Regions from separate parts of the Homo sapiens genome. Here regions 1 and 3 are each linked to region 2. The links are contacts of gene promoters, found by promoter capture Hi-C in human tissues and cell types (Jung and others, 2019). All regions are on one chromosome and are shown on one strand. Each heading gives the region's core, a stretch centred on a gene start or on the middle of the fragment in contact. The rest is flanking DNA. Distances are from core to core; before and after follow the strand shown. Region 1 holds the start of KHSRP (KH-type splicing regulatory protein). Region 2 overlaps RFX2 (regulatory factor X2). Region 3 holds the start of ACER1 (alkaline ceramidase 1).

Evidence for each region. The method cuts DNA at HindIII sites, captures the fragments that hold promoters and counts their contacts. A contact is called where the count stands out against the background at its distance.
Region 1: the fragment with the promoter of KHSRP here is called in contact with a fragment that was not itself captured in region 2 in 5 of the 25 tissues and cell types used here (dorsolateral prefrontal cortex, heart left ventricle, lymphoblastoid cells and 2 more).
Region 3: a contact is called between the fragment with the promoter of ACER1 here and a fragment that was not itself captured in region 2, in 4 of the 25 tissues and cell types used here (H1 embryonic stem cells, lymphoblastoid cells, mesendoderm cells and 1 more).

What each region holds. Positions count from the first base shown.
Region 1 is chr19:6,422,277-6,426,809 of GRCh38, reverse strand. It overlaps KHSRP (KH-type splicing regulatory protein), which reads left to right and starts at 1,999. Exons shown (of 19, transcript NM_001366299.1): 1 at 1,999-2,357; 2 at 4,374-4,470. The coding sequence starts at 2,109. SLC25A41 (solute carrier family 25 member 41) reads left to right here. Exons shown (of 7, transcript NM_173637.4): 7 at 249-773. The coding sequence ends at 421. RefSeq lists an enhancer at 1,572-1,691. The HindIII fragment of the contact is 26,210 bases long and covers 1-4,533 here.
Region 2 is chr19:6,073,652-6,078,525 of GRCh38, reverse strand. All of the region lies in intron 1 of RFX2 (regulatory factor X2), which reads left to right. RFX2-AS1 (RFX2 antisense RNA 1) reads right to left here. Exons shown (of 2, transcript NR_199041.1): 2 at 1,402-1,506. Among named protein-coding and RNA genes, the nearest start is that of RFX2-AS1, 13 kb to the right of the region's middle. RefSeq lists enhancers at 3,977-4,146, 3,366-4,159. The HindIII fragment of the contact is 7,886 bases long and covers 1-4,874 here.
Region 3 is chr19:6,330,702-6,335,587 of GRCh38, reverse strand. It overlaps ACER1 (alkaline ceramidase 1), which reads left to right and starts at 1,976. Exons shown (of 6, transcript NM_133492.3): 1 at 1,976-2,129. The coding sequence starts at 2,037. The HindIII fragment of the contact is 13,348 bases long and covers 1-4,886 here.

The DNA.
Region 1 (4,533 bases), core at 750-3,249, 350 kb before region 2:
CAGAGAGAGACCCTATCCCCACTCCCACCCCTCAAGAAAATTTCCTAAAATTAATCCTGATAACTACTACTCAGAAACTCCCCCACTCCTCCTCAAACTGACCAATTTCCTCTAAGACTCTTCAAACTGTTTTCCTACTGACCCCTGGGGCCCCTACCCGTGGCTTCAGCACCTGTCCGCAACATTCCAGACTCCTAGGAGGCCCGGTCATCTCTGGCCTAGTCCTGATCTTGCCTGTGTCCCTGCAGATACCGTGGAGGGCTCAAATCCCACCATGCGCGGAGTCCTCCAGCGGATCCTGGCCCAGCAGGGCTGGCTAGGGCTGTACCGAGGCATGACCCCCACGCTACTGAAGGTCTTACCAGCAGGTGGCATCAGCTATGTGGTGTACGAAGCCATGAAGAAAACCCTGGGCATATAGGCTGTGAGCTGGACGACACAGCCTAGGCAGAAATGGGACAGGAGGACCTGATGACCCCTGGCCCCAAAGAGCCCTCGAGGCCTCAAGGTTCAGGCCCTGGGGCAGTTTTTGGTGGCAAAAGCAGGCTGGGGGTGGGGGTGGGGCTCTGGGTCAGAAGATTCCTGAAGCTGGGGTTGGTGGTGGGTGGAGGGGGGCAGTGCTGGGTCAGAAAACTCCTGGGACTCCCTCCCCAGGGTGCAGCCTGAGACAAGAAACGTGGACTCCAGTCTGGCCCCTTGTGGGTCGTCCTGGCTCCAGGGCGAAATGGTGAACATGTCACACAACAAGGAATAAAGAGATGGTTTTTGCTGAACGTGTCTGGATACTTGGGCCTAGGAGTGGAACTGGGTGCATGAGATCCCTGGACCCAGTAGGGGAGCTGGGGACCTTGGGCCTCTGGGTCCTGAATGGGAATTTGTGTCCAGGAGAGGAAGTGAGGACCTAGGATAGGAGCTTGAGGCTTGGATCCCAGGGCCTTAGGCGAAGGGAGTGAGGGGTGTGAAGTGAGGGGTGTGATCGAGGCTGTGATCCCTCGATCCCGGTTGTTGGAACGGTTCTGGACTCGTGAGTGGGGCTGGTTCCTTGAGTCCTGCAAGAGAACTGGACGCTCTAGATGGGGGGTCGAGAGAGAAGAAGGCCCGGGGGATCCCGAGTTTCCTGCTTTCCGGCCTCCCCACCTCCGGAAGCGCTCGATCTCTAAGGCTTCAAGCGGGCCACGTGCCGGGCCTACCCAACCAGGCTGCCGGTGAGCTAACCCAGACATCAGGCCTGAGTTCGGGCAGCCGATTGCCACCGCCCACGTCGGCTGCCATTCACTACAGTTCCCGCTAATCCCCTCGCTGTCTGGTGGCCGACTCCGCCCCAATGCAGCGGCGCTTCCACTGGCTCCCACCAAAAGTGGGCGCTTTGATTTCCTTCATTCCCATTTGTCCAGACCAGTGTCAGTCACCGAACACCCACCCATGTCGCTCAGCCATTGGCTTAGAAGTCAGGGATAGAAAAGGATTCTGGTTAACAAGGGAAGCAATTAAAGTCCAAAGCCAACCTCATCACCCAGAACTCGTCAGGAATTGGATTAATTGGCTGCCCATCTTTACAAGCACCACCTCTCACGTGCATTCATTGGCTTGTGTCCACGACTATCAAACCTAACGCCCACCCAGCCGGTCCATAGGAGTCTTCCACTAGGCCCGGCCTTACAGTCCACGTGACTCTTCAGAACCGTCAATCTAATTCTGAAGCCGCCCCGCGAATCTGGCACTCGCGTTTCATTGGGCCTCCTGCCTTCTCAGATCTCCTTCATTTGCCCGCCCAGCACGGGCAGCTCGCAGCTATTGCCTCTGAGAGCTGTCAGTCACTCTGAGCCTCCCGCCCACTGCCCCTCATTGCACTCCGATTGGCCACCTCCTACAGAGCTCGCGATTGGTGTCCGGGGTGCGGCGGCTGCCTCCCATTGGCCCGCCGGAGTCGTCCGTCACGTCGGCGGCGGGAGGGGCGACTCTCTCCCCCCTCGTCGTCCTCCCAGCGGCTGGGTTCCCAGAGTGCTCCGCGGCCGTGTGGAGCGAGGCCTTGTTCCCGCGTTGAGCCGCCGCCGCCGCCGCCGCCTCCTCAGCTTCAGCCTCCGCGCCAGGCCCGGCCCCGCCGCGCCATGTCGGACTACAGCACGGGAGGACCCCCGCCCGGGCCGCCGCCGCCCGCCGGCGGGGGCGGGGGAGCCGGAGGCGCCGGGGGAGGCCCTCCGCCGGGCCCGCCAGGCGCGGGGGACCGGGGCGGCGGCGGTCCCGGCGGCGGCGGCCCGGGCGGGGGGTCGGCCGGGGGCCCCTCTCAGCCACCCGGCGGAGGCGGCCCGGGAATCCGCAAGGACGCTTTCGCCGACGCCGTGCAGCGGGCCCGCCAGGTGAGGAGGCCGAGGGCCTGAGGGGCGCGCTCGCGCGCGCGCGCAGGCGGGGGAGGGGGCGGGGGTCACGTGCGCGCGCGCGCGCAGGGTCGCGGAGGGGGGCCGGGGCCGTCGCGGGGTCACGTGGGCGGTAGGCGGGGGCCTGGCCCTCCCGCTGCGCCTCGAGTGGGATCCCAACGGGTGACCCCCCTGCAGGGAGTAGGGGCGCACTGGGGGTCACCAGGAGCGGCGCCTGGGTGTGCAGGCGCCCCGGAGCTCGGAGACGCACTTTTGGGACCCCCCCCTTAGCCCCCCGGCCTTAGGACATGCCTGGAGGCAGGGGTCCACCTTCCCGGGCGGAGGGCCTTTACTCTCCCCTCCATATCAGGGCAAAGGGCAGTGTTTGCCCCCAACCCAGTCCCATTTCTGTCCCCTCTCTAGGAGAAAGGGACATTGTGGGGGTGGGAGGGACAGTCCTTCCTCTTCAGTCGGGAAAGTGGATGGGGACCTGTCTAGGGCTGAGCACTTGGGCGAAATGGGGAAGACGAGCATGGGGACTGGCTCTTGGATGCTTTGGTGGCTTGAAAGCGTGGTCTGTCTCTTTGGGGGAAAGAAGGGAGGGTCTCCCACCCCCGTGTATTGAGGCGTAATGACAAGGAAGTGTCACATGCTGCTAGGACTGACCTCTCCAGCTCCATTTGCAGCCTCCCCATGGCCTGGAGGGGTGGGGGTCGGTAGAATGGGAGGACTTTGCCGCCGACCGGCTCCTGGGCTGTCCCAATGCCTCCGGGGCTAGAGACTGGCTCCTCCCAAGGTGGGAGGTCCCGTTAAGTGAACGCCTGTGTTCTGGCCCTCTGTCGTCTCTCTCACCCTTGGAGTTGGGTGGGTTCTAGCGTGCATTTGGTCTTATTGCCCATGGAACCGTCTGATTCTGGGACAGCTTGAAGGGAGGAAGCTGGTGCTGTCAGTTGGTGGGGACAGGCCCCCTGTGGGCATCCCATGAGTTTTGGCTCTAGGGCAGCGTAGAAAAATGGAGACTGGTGGAAAGGGAGATTCTTAACATGGTTTGGGTTTCTAAACCCCAGACTCTGATCCTAAGTTTGCTGGGTTGAGGTTTCTTTAAAGTTGCTCTTCACGTGTCTGAGATGTAACTTGTGTCCCATAGAGTCTTGGTTTTTTGTTTGTTTGTTTGTTTTTTGGAAACAGTCTCAATATCACCCAGGCAGGGGTGCAGTGGCACGATCTCAGCACACCACAGCCTCCACCTCTCCAGTTGAAGTGCTCCTCCTGCCTCAGCCTCCCGAGTAGCTGGGATTATAAGTGTGCACCACCACACCCAGCTAATTTTTGTATTTTTAGTAGAGATGGAGTTTGACCATGTCAGCCAGTCTGTCTCGAACTCCTGAGTTCAAGTGATCTGCCCGCCTCGGCCTCCCAAAATGCTGGGATTACAGGCATAAGTCACAGTGCCCAGCCATCCAGAGAGTCTTCTGTTTTGGTCAAATGAGGATTTCATATCCCTTGAAGTGATCGCTTTGCTCAAATTTATTCAATAAATTGATAAAAGGATTTTGAGAGTGGGGGAGATAGGGGAAAATTGAACTCTTCAGCATCCCAGGAAAACGGGGCTAAAAAAAAACACACTTTCTGGTTTTCTGAGCTGGGGCCACTGGCAGGAGGAAGTGTCTGAAAGCTCTTGGAGATGACCTGGGAACCCTCCCTGACACCTGAGCCTCTGTTCCTTGTCACCCCTAGAACGAAGTCAGTGTGGATTATGGGCTGGCCACAATTAAGACACAAATCCCAGGAGAAGGGAAGAGGGGAATTTTGATATTCCCAGTTAACTGGTGAGAACCTTGAGGCCTAGGTTCAAAACTCCTAGGATGTCTTAACCAACTGACTCTTCCCTAAGTTGGAGGGCCAGACACCAAGACCTGATGGGCTTTCGTGTCCAGGAGATGTTCTGAGAAGTTGACCTGGGTGCCATGGAGGGTTGTTTTTGGTGGTAATTCTTCTGTGCTTACTACTTTATTCTAGATTGCAGCCAAAATTGGAGGCGATGCTGCCACGACAGTGAATAACAGCACTCCTGATTTTGGTTTTGGGGGCCAAAAGAGACAGTTGGAAGATGGAGGTAACTCCCTGCTGCTGCCTTTAGCTTAGGAGGAAGGGCTGGGGGCCTAAAGAGGTGCTTTTG
Region 2 (4,874 bases), core at 576-3,075:
AGATGTTGGCTTTCTTTCTTGGAGACGGTACCTCTTCTTTTTAATGGCAGCATAGTTTTAGAGCTAGGATGCACCATAAGGTACTTAATGATTTTCCTGTTGATGAACATTTGTTTCTAAATTTTTATGACTTAAACTAATGCCACTGGGGACAGGTCGTCAATATACCTTTTTTTTTTTTTTTTTTACAGCTGTGCTGAGATCTGTTTTACATACCGTAAAGCTCACCCATTTGAAGTGTATGGTTCAGTGGGTCTTAGTATACTATCTTCACAGAACATTTTCATCACTCCGAAAAGAAGAAGAAACCCTGAACCTGCCATGAACAGCCACTTGCCCTTCCTCCTCCCAGCCCCGGGCAACTGTGAATCCACTTTCTGTCTCTGTGGATTTGCCTGTTTTGAACCTTTCATATAAACAGAATCACACACTATGTGGCCTTTTGTGACTGGCTTCTTCCACGTAACATAATGTTTTCAGGGTCCACTGTCCATCCGTTTACAGCATGTGCCAGTGCCTCGTTCCTTTTTTTTTTTTTTTTTTTTGAGATGGAATTTTGCTCTTGTTGCCCAGGCTGGAGTGCAATGGCGCGATCTTGGCTCACTGCAACCTCCGCCTCCCGGGTTCAAGCGATTCTCCTGCCTCAGCCTCCCAAGTAGCTGGGATTACAGGCATGTGCCACCACGCCCGGCTAATTTTGTATTTTAATAGAGACAGGGTTTCTCCATGTTGGTCAGGCTGGTCTCAAACTCCTGACCTCAGGTGATCCACCCGCCTCAGCCTCCCAAAGTGCTGGGATTACAGGTGTGAGCCACCGCGCCCGGCCGCCTTCGTTTATCCATCCATCAGTTGACAAACATTTGGGCTGTTGCTACTTTGGGGCCATTAGGACAACGCTGCTGTGAACATTGGTATCCAAGCATTTGTGTGGCCATGCACTGTTTAGCACATGTCTACTTCTGCAGGATGAATTTTGAGGAGGGGAAAAAGACCCCACTTATAGCTAGCTCTTTGTCTCTGACTGTGTAGGTTTGAACATCTCGTAAGTCTTGAGAAATGCTTGGAGGCCATTTCCTGCAGAGGCACACGCCCCTCTTGGGTGGGCTGGGGGAGGCAGTGGCAGAGCCCAGCCCACCTGCCCCAGCCACCAGTGCTCCCGGGTTTTGCATTCAGCCCCTGGCACACACTCATGGCTAACCCTGGTGCCCTTGCCTGTCTTTGACCCAGCACTGGCGAAGGAATTGGCAAAGCCACCAGGTTAATGATGCAAGCCCCAGAAACTTGCGGCATAGATGAGAAGGCAAATGGCCTCTCCTTTTGGAGAACTAAAGAGATTTAAGGAAGCTTGCTGGCTCACTCCCTCTCACCGGCAAGGATGGCACTAAACACAGTCCGCATCAATCACTGTTTTTGTTATGCGATTTATGAGTTGCTCAGCCGAGAATAAGGTTGCACGTGGTAGGAGGAGTTCTGTGTGTACCGAGGTCTCATGGAAGGACTGGATTTCTAGGGAAGAAAAGGGAAAAGGGAGTTGATGTTAAAATATCATTTCTATAACAGTAATGCAGTAGTGTTCATCTAGAAGGAGAGCTGCCACATTTGGCAAGATGCTGGGAGAGAAACAAGTATTAAGTACTTGGTTAAAATGACAAACCCCACAAATATGCCCTGGAATGAATATAGCTCATAGCAGGAGGCACTCCCTAAAGGGCTTAGCAACATCACAAATAGCGAAGAGTTTTTGAAATCACAAATAGCAAACAGCATAACTGCTTTTAGTTTCAGATATTTAAATCTGCAAAAAATCAGTAAATTATGTGGGTTACGTTATAATGGTGTGAATTACAACGATGACGCTAATGAACATTTATGGGCATTTTCCGTGTGCTGGGCTGGCCATTAAACTCCACACTTTGTAGGACTCCTCTCATTTAACACAACCACCCAACACAGATAGAAGTATTTTCTCCGTTTATGGACAAAGAAATGGAAGTGCAGAAAGATTTAAGTCCCTGGCTGAGGTCACCCAGCTAGAAACTGGAGGACCCAGGAACTGGACCCAGGCACCGGACCCAGGCACCCTCGCCTAGCCTCCTGTTTTAGAGCTAGGATGCACCGTAAGGTAGTTAATGGTATTCCAGTTGATGAACGTTTGTTTCTTATTTATGTATTTATTTATTTTGAGACAGAGTCTCTCTCTGTCACCCAGGCTGGAGTACAGTGGCACCATCTCGGCTCACTGCAACCTCAGCCTCCCGGGTTCAGGCGATTCTCCTGCCTCAGCCTCCCAAGTAGCTGGGATTACAGGCATGCACCACCACGCATGGCTAATTTTTGTATTATTTTTTAGTAGAGATGGGGTTTCGCCATGTTGGCCAGGCTGCTCTCGAACTCATGACCTCAAGTGATCTGCCCACCTTGGCCTCCCAAAATGTGCTGGGATTACAGGCATGAGCCACCGCCCCCAACCTCGTTTCTAATTTTTTGTGAACACCAAGCTCCGAAAGCCAAGTAAAGGGGTGACGCTGTGTATTTCAGAGCTCGATATTCCCTCTGCTTTCTTCCTCTCCTCTGTCCCCTATGCCAGATCCTCCAACTGTTCATGACCTTTGAACTTGAGAAGGGACCTCTTTTCTGCTTTATCTACACCTGCTTTCCTGGTGATCTCACCGAGGTACAAGAGTTGAAATGCATCTTAGAACCTCCAGTGTCCTAGTGTCTGCAGCCTGGCTCACTCCCCGAATCCTGGACTTGTGTACCTAGCTGCCTAGGTGGCAGCTGCATGTGGGTGTCATCTGATGGGCATCTGAGGCTTCTGTCACCCAAAACTGGGTGCCTGATTCGACCTCACACTTGTCTCTCCCCAGACCACGGGCTTCCCCAGCTCAGCACCGGGCAGCTCCATTCTCTAGGTGCTCAGGCCAGCCCCAAGCCTTAAGTCAGCCTCGACTCCTCTCTTTCTTTCACCCTTTATGTCAAACCCGTCAGCAAACCTGGCTGGCTCTGTCTTCAGGTGTCTCCCAAATGAGAGCACTGCTATCACGTAAGTCTTTGTCACCTCTGACCTGGTTGTCCAGCCCTGACGTTTGCTTCCATTGACCGTTGATACTTCCAAAATATCTGTCAGATTGTGTCCCTGTGCCCTAAACCTTCCAGTAGCTTCCCAGCACACTCAGAGCGAAAGCCAAACACTCCACTGTGGCCTCCTTGTGTCTCTAAGTCCATCTTCTCCTCCTCCTCCTCCTCCTCCTCCACCTTCTCCTCCTCTTCTTTCTCCTCTTCCTCCTTCTCCTCCTGTCTTAATCTGTTTGGGCTGTTTCAGCAAAAGGCCATAGACTGGGTGGCTGTAAACAACAGACACACATCTCTCAGCCCTGGAGGTGGGAAGTCTGAGAAGAGGGTGCCAGCAGGGTCAGGTTCTGGTGAGGGCTTCCCTCTGGGATGCAGATGGCTGTCTTCTTGCTGTGTCCTCACATCACATGGTGGGAAGCCAGAGAGAGCTCTCTGGGGTCCCTTCCATAAGGGAGGGCATGATCCCACCCTCATGACCTAATCACCTCCCAAAGGCCCCACCTCCTAAAGCTACTGCCTTGGGGTGAGGAGTTCAGCATAGGAATTTAAGGGGACACAACATTCAACCCCCAGCATTCCCCCAGCTCCCTCTGGTGGCCTCCTCACGTGACCCGTGTGACCCCACATGTCCCGTGTGCCTCAGCCTTGCCGAGCACCATCCCTGGCAGAGCCTTCTCAGCGGCGACACTTTCCTCACCTCACTCTGCCTCTGTCCTGTCACTGCCCCAGGTCACCTTGTTGCCCCTGGCCCATGCCGCACTCCACTTGTGCATTTGAGTGTATTTTTCTTCAGAGCATTTGTCACCTCCTGCTGTTCTGTGTCCATGGTGTCGTCTGTCTCTCCCTGAGGGGTCAGCCCCACATGGTCAGGGACTCAATCTGTTTCATTCCCTGCTGTGTCCTCAGCACTTGAAGCCGGCACATGGCAGATGCTCAGACTGTGTTTGTTGAATGAATGAACGATGGCTGAGTGTCCAGGCTCTGAGGGAGTGTGTTATGGGCACCCTTCAAGCCCCAGCCCCTGTACCCAGGGCACTGTGTGGGGTGAGGAGATGCACCGGCACAGGCCGGGTGCTAAGAGGAAGGTGGAAAGGTTCTAGCCCACCTTCTCTTCTCGTTGACTTGAGGTTAGGAAGGGGCTAGCTTGGGATGAGAGGAGGAGCTTCCTCCACACTGTGGCATCTGTACCCCGCCTGATGTTCCACCTGAACTCCTGCCACAAGCTCCAGATCTGTTCCTGTACCGCACCCCCACCCCTGCTACAAAACCCCGGCTCTCTGTTTGCCCACCTGGTCCGCCGCTTTGGGCAGAGCTGCCCTTCATTCATTTTCCATCTTCCCGAGGGCTGACCTTGGCTGCTGTGGGTCATTAGTGATGAGGCCCAGAACCTCAGCTGGGGCAGAACGAGTTCCTGCTACCCAGGGCCGGCCTGTCTGGGGGCTGCCTAGAAGTCGCCCTGTGGTCCTCTACAGTCATTCCTGTGTGAGGACGAGACACACACTTTCCACTTGCTGGAGAGGAGGGTCTGGGTGGCTTTTTATTGGTGCATTCACCCTCTCAGATACTTCCTGATCAGTATGAGCTGGGTAAACAGCCAATTCAGATGGCTCAGACTCCCGGAAGAGGAGCGCTTAGCCCAAATTACTGGTATTAGCCGTCCGCATTCAACCTCATCTTAACCATGAAATTTGCACGGTAAAAAAGAGAATTTGACTTACACAGAAATGCAACTGTGTCTTCATCGTTCCACTCTACAGTAAGCTTCAGAGGGCTTTCATCCATTCAGCCTTCCTTCTTTCCAT
Region 3 (4,886 bases), core at 727-3,226, 260 kb before region 2:
AAGCACTAGGATTACAGGCGTGAGCCACAGCACCCGGGGTAGGATTGTTAAGAACATTAAATGAAGGCCGGGCACAGTGGCTCACGCCTGTAATCCCAGCACTTTGGGAAGTCGAGACGGGCAGATCACAAGGTCAGGAGTTTGAGGCCAGCCTGGTCAATATGGTGAAACCCCGTCTCTACTAAAAATACAAAAATTAGCTGGGCATGGTGGCAGGTGCCTGTAGTCCCAGTTACTCAGGAGGCTGAGGCAGGAGAATTGCTTGAACTAGGGAGGTGGAGGTTGCAGTGAGCCAAGATCATGCCACTGCACTCCAGCCTGGGAGACAGAGTGAGGCTCCATCTCAAAAAAAAAAAAAAAAAAGAACGTTAAATGAGATAATACTGAAAATCAAGCACTTAAAAAAAGAAAAATTATATAATATATAATATTAATTATTATATTAAATTATATTAATCACATTAAAATAATATACTAAAATATTTAAAATATTATATAACAATAGTATTTTTAATATAATAATTTTATATTTTAATATAATATTGCTATTATATAATAAATAATTATATTATTATTGTTATGCACACTTGCTAACCGCTTGCTAAGGCCAGGCTCTTTTATTATAATAATAATAATTATTATTATTCCCACAAAGTTGACTTAAAGTTCAAGGTCAGCTTCAGTAAGAAAACCCTGTAATCCCAGCACTTTGGGACAGAGCAAGACTCCATCTCAAAAAAAAAAAGAAAACCCATTACCATCCATCAAGTGCCTACTCTAGCATAGGCAGTGGGCTAAGCCTTTGTACATGCTTTATCTCTGTCTTCCTTTGTTACAGTTGGCTCTGTCACCATCGTCTCCATATGACAGGTGAGCAAACAGAGGATCAGAGAGGTAAATTCACTTGCCCAAGGTCACACAGCTTAAAGTAGAGGAACTCAGGCCAGGTGAGGTGGCTCATGCGTATAATCCCGGCACCTTGGGAGGCCAAGGTGGGCAGATCACCTGAGGTCAGGAGTTCGAGACCAGCTTGACCAACATGGTGAAATCCTATCTCTACTAAAATACAAAAAAAATTAGCTGGGCATGGTGGCAGGTGCCAGTCATCCCAGCTACTTGGGAGGCTGAGGTAGGAGAATCGCTTGAACCCAGGAGGTGGAGGTTGCAGTGAGCTGACATTGCGCCACTACACTCCAGCCTGGGTGACAGAGCCAGACTGCATCTCAATTTTAAAAAAAAAGGCCGGGCACGGTGGCTCACGCACACCTATAATCCCAGCACTTTGGGAGGCCAAGGCAGGTGGATCACGAGGTCAGGAGATCGAGACCATCCTGGCTAACACAGTGAAACTCCATCTCTATTAAAAATACAAAAAATTAGCCGGTCGTGGCGGTGGGCGCCTGTAGTCCCAGCTACTCGGGAGGCTGAGGCGGGAGAATGGCGTGAACACGGGAGGCAGAGCTTGCAGTGAGCTGAGATCATGCCACTGCACTCCAGCCTGGGCAACAGAGCGACTCTGTCTCCAAAAAAAAAAACAATTAGCTAGGCATGGTGGCAGCATGTGCCTGTGGTCCTGGCTACTTCAGAGGCTGAGGCAGGAGTATTGCTTGAGCCTGGGAGTTTGAGGCTGCGGTGAGCTATGATGATGCCACTGTACCCCAGCCTGAGCAACAGAGCAAGGCCCTGACTCTAATAAATAAATACATACATACATAAAAGATAAAAACAGTTCCCTCCACTGCCCCCACCCCGATTCCTATTCCTGGGTAATCTGGATGGGAGGCCTCTTCCCTGCCTACTTCTGCCCCCTGCCCTGCCTGGACAGTGCCAGTCCCACGGCTTATGCTCAGGGCTGCTGTCACTGCACAGCCAGGCTGCCCTGGTGCAACTGGGGAGCGGCCCAGCAGGTTTTTCCTCCCAGTCTGCCTGCCGCGGGGCACCGGGCTGTCCTCTCCCCGCCTCATCAGGGCCCAGCCTTCCCAAGCTCGCCTTCTCTCTGCCGGGCGCAGCCGGCTGGTGGTGGCCACTGAGACAAGATGCCTAGCATCTTCGCCTATCAGAGCTCCGAGGTGGACTGGTGTGAGAGCAACTTCCAGTACTCGGAGCTGGTGGCCGAGTTCTACAACACGGTGAGTGCGTGGGTGTGTGAAGGAGTCTCGCCAGATGCCGGTTCGAATCCCGGTTCCTCCCCATACAGCCTTACTGGGGAATCTTGCTGGAGTGGTTCACCTGTCTCAGCCCTAGTTTTCTCATCTGTTAGCCAAAGAGTGCCAGCTTTCATTCATTTACTTGTCTTTACTTGATGCCAAGCTCTGTGGTAGGTTTTGGAGACACATTGGTGGCCAGGAAAAGAACCGGTCTCTGCCTTCCCTAAGCTAACTCTGATGTGACTGCAGGCATTTGCAACCGGGAGCGATGGTGCCTTCTTGGAGGGCACAGAGGCAGCTGTGGTAGGGGGAGGCAGAGGGTGCCCCTGAGCTAGAGGGGGTGGGCCAATCAGGAAAGGCTTCCTGGAAGAGGTGATTGTGTCTGTCTTGTTTGCAGCTGTACCCACTGACCAACTTGTCCCAGTGTGCCTGGGACTATCCTGGTTTCAGTATTTAAAAAGTTTCACCTCTTGGCTGGGCGCGGTGGCTCACGTCTGTAATCCTAGCACTTTGGAAGGCCAAGGTGGGTGGATTGCCTGAGCTCAGGAGTTGGAGATCGCCCTGGGCAACGTGGTGAAAGCCCATCTCTACTAAAATAAAAAATTAGCTGGGTACGGTGTCAGGCATCTGTAGTCCAAGCTACTCAGGAGGCTACGGCATGAGAATCGCTTGAACCCAGGAGGCGGAGGTTGCAGTGAGCTGAGATTGTGCCACTGCACTCCAGCCTGGGTGAAAAAGCGAGACTGTCTCAAAAAAAGAAGAAAAAAAGTCCCACCTCCTGAGAAACTCCTCAGTTCTGGACATTCTGAGGTGGTCTTCTCTTTCCCTGTTAAAACACCACATGGGAAGTGCTAAAAAATCATGGATGTACCTAGCACCATGGCTCATGCCTGTAACCCCAGCAATTTGGAACGCAGAGGCAGGAAGATCGCTTGAGCCCAGGAGTTCCAGACCAGCCTGGGCAACATAGCAAGACCCTGTCTCTACAAAAAGTTTTTAAAAATTAGCTGGGTGTGGTGGTGTGTGCTTGTAGTTCCAGCTACTTGGGAGGCTGAGGGGGGAGGATTTCTTGAACCCAAGAAGTGGAGGATGCAGTGAGCTGAGGTCATACCACTGCACTCCAGCCTGGGTGACAGAGGGAGACCCTGTCTCAAAAAAAAAAAAAAAAAAAAAAGGCCGGGCGCGGAGGCTCACGCCTGTAATCACAGCACTTTGCGAGGCCAAGGTGAGTGGATCACCTGAGGTCAGGAGTTCGAGACCAGCCTGGCCAACATGGTGAAACCCCATCTCTACTAAAAATACAAAAATTAGCCAGGTTTGGTGGCAGGCACCTGTAATCCCAGCTGCTTGGGAGGCTGAGGCAAGAGAATGGCTTGAACCCAGGAGGCGGAGGTTTCAATGAGCCGAGATCGCACCATTGCACTCCAGCCTGAGGGACAAGAGCGAGACTTCGTCTCAAAAAAAAAAAAAAAAATAGGAATGCACAAATGATCACGGCATTTAGCCAAAGCTTAAAGCCAAAGATCAGTGCAGCTATGCCATGCCCATACTGGGTGCTGGGAACACAGAGGTGTTTGCCTGGAGCCCTGGGAATGATGGGATCCAGGCATAGTGCTTAGTTCTTTTGTTTGTTTGTTTGTTTGTTTTGAAACGGAGTCTCGCTTTGTCACCTAGGCTGGAATGTAATGGCGCGATCTCGGCTCACTGCAACCTCTGCCTCCCGCGTTCAAGCCATTCTGCTGCCTCAGCTTCCCGAGTAGTTGGGATAACAGGTTCCCACCACCACGCCTGGCTAATTTTTGTATTTTTAGTAGAGACAGGGTTTCACCATGTTGGCCAGGCTGGTCTTGAACTCCCGACCTCAGGTGATCCGCCCACCTCAGCCTCCCAAAGTGCTGGGATTACAGGCGTGAGCCACGGCGCCCGGCCTCGTAGTGCTTAGTTCTATGCCCTGCACATAGGCCTTGCTCAGTGAGCAGAAGAGTGCTTGCTGGCTGGGTGCTATGGCTCACGCCTGTAATCCCAGCACTTTGGGAGGCCGAGGGGGGTGGATCATGAGGTCAAGAGGTCAAGACCATCCTGGCCAACGTGGTGAAATGCCGTCTGTGCTAAAAATACAAAAAATTAGCCAGGCATGGTGCCGGGCGCCTGTAGTCCCAGCTACTCAGGAGGCTAAGGCAGGAGAATCACTTGAACCCGGGAGGCAGAGGTTGCAGTGAGCCAAGATTGTGTCACTGCACTCCAGCCTGGTGACAGAGCGAGACCTCATCTCAAAAAAAAAAAAAAAGTGCTTGCTGTGTACCAGGCATGACCCTAAACATTTTACGTGAAACACCTCCTTTAATCTGCACAGTGACATGGGGAGTTAGATGCAATCTATATGATACAGACTTCATCCCATTTTCCAGGTGATAAAACAGGTGTTCAAGGAGTTTGAAGGCTGTGCCCAGGGTCACCCTGGTTATTAGAGCCAGGATTTAAACTTGGTGAGTCCAGGAGACTTTTCTGGGAGGAGAGTCCGAGGCTCAGGTTGCTCTGACCCTGTTGCCTTTCACCCCGGGGCTTCCCATACCTGGGAAGTGGGATTATGAGACTCCAGGATCCTCACGGTCTCACTGATTCTTGCTCTTCCTTAGCCAGAGATATGGTTCCCGGTCCTCAGTAGTCCCACCTCTAACATGGGAGGGAGCTGAATGATTGGTCCTACGAGGCTGAGATGATGGGTAAGGGCTCTAGAGC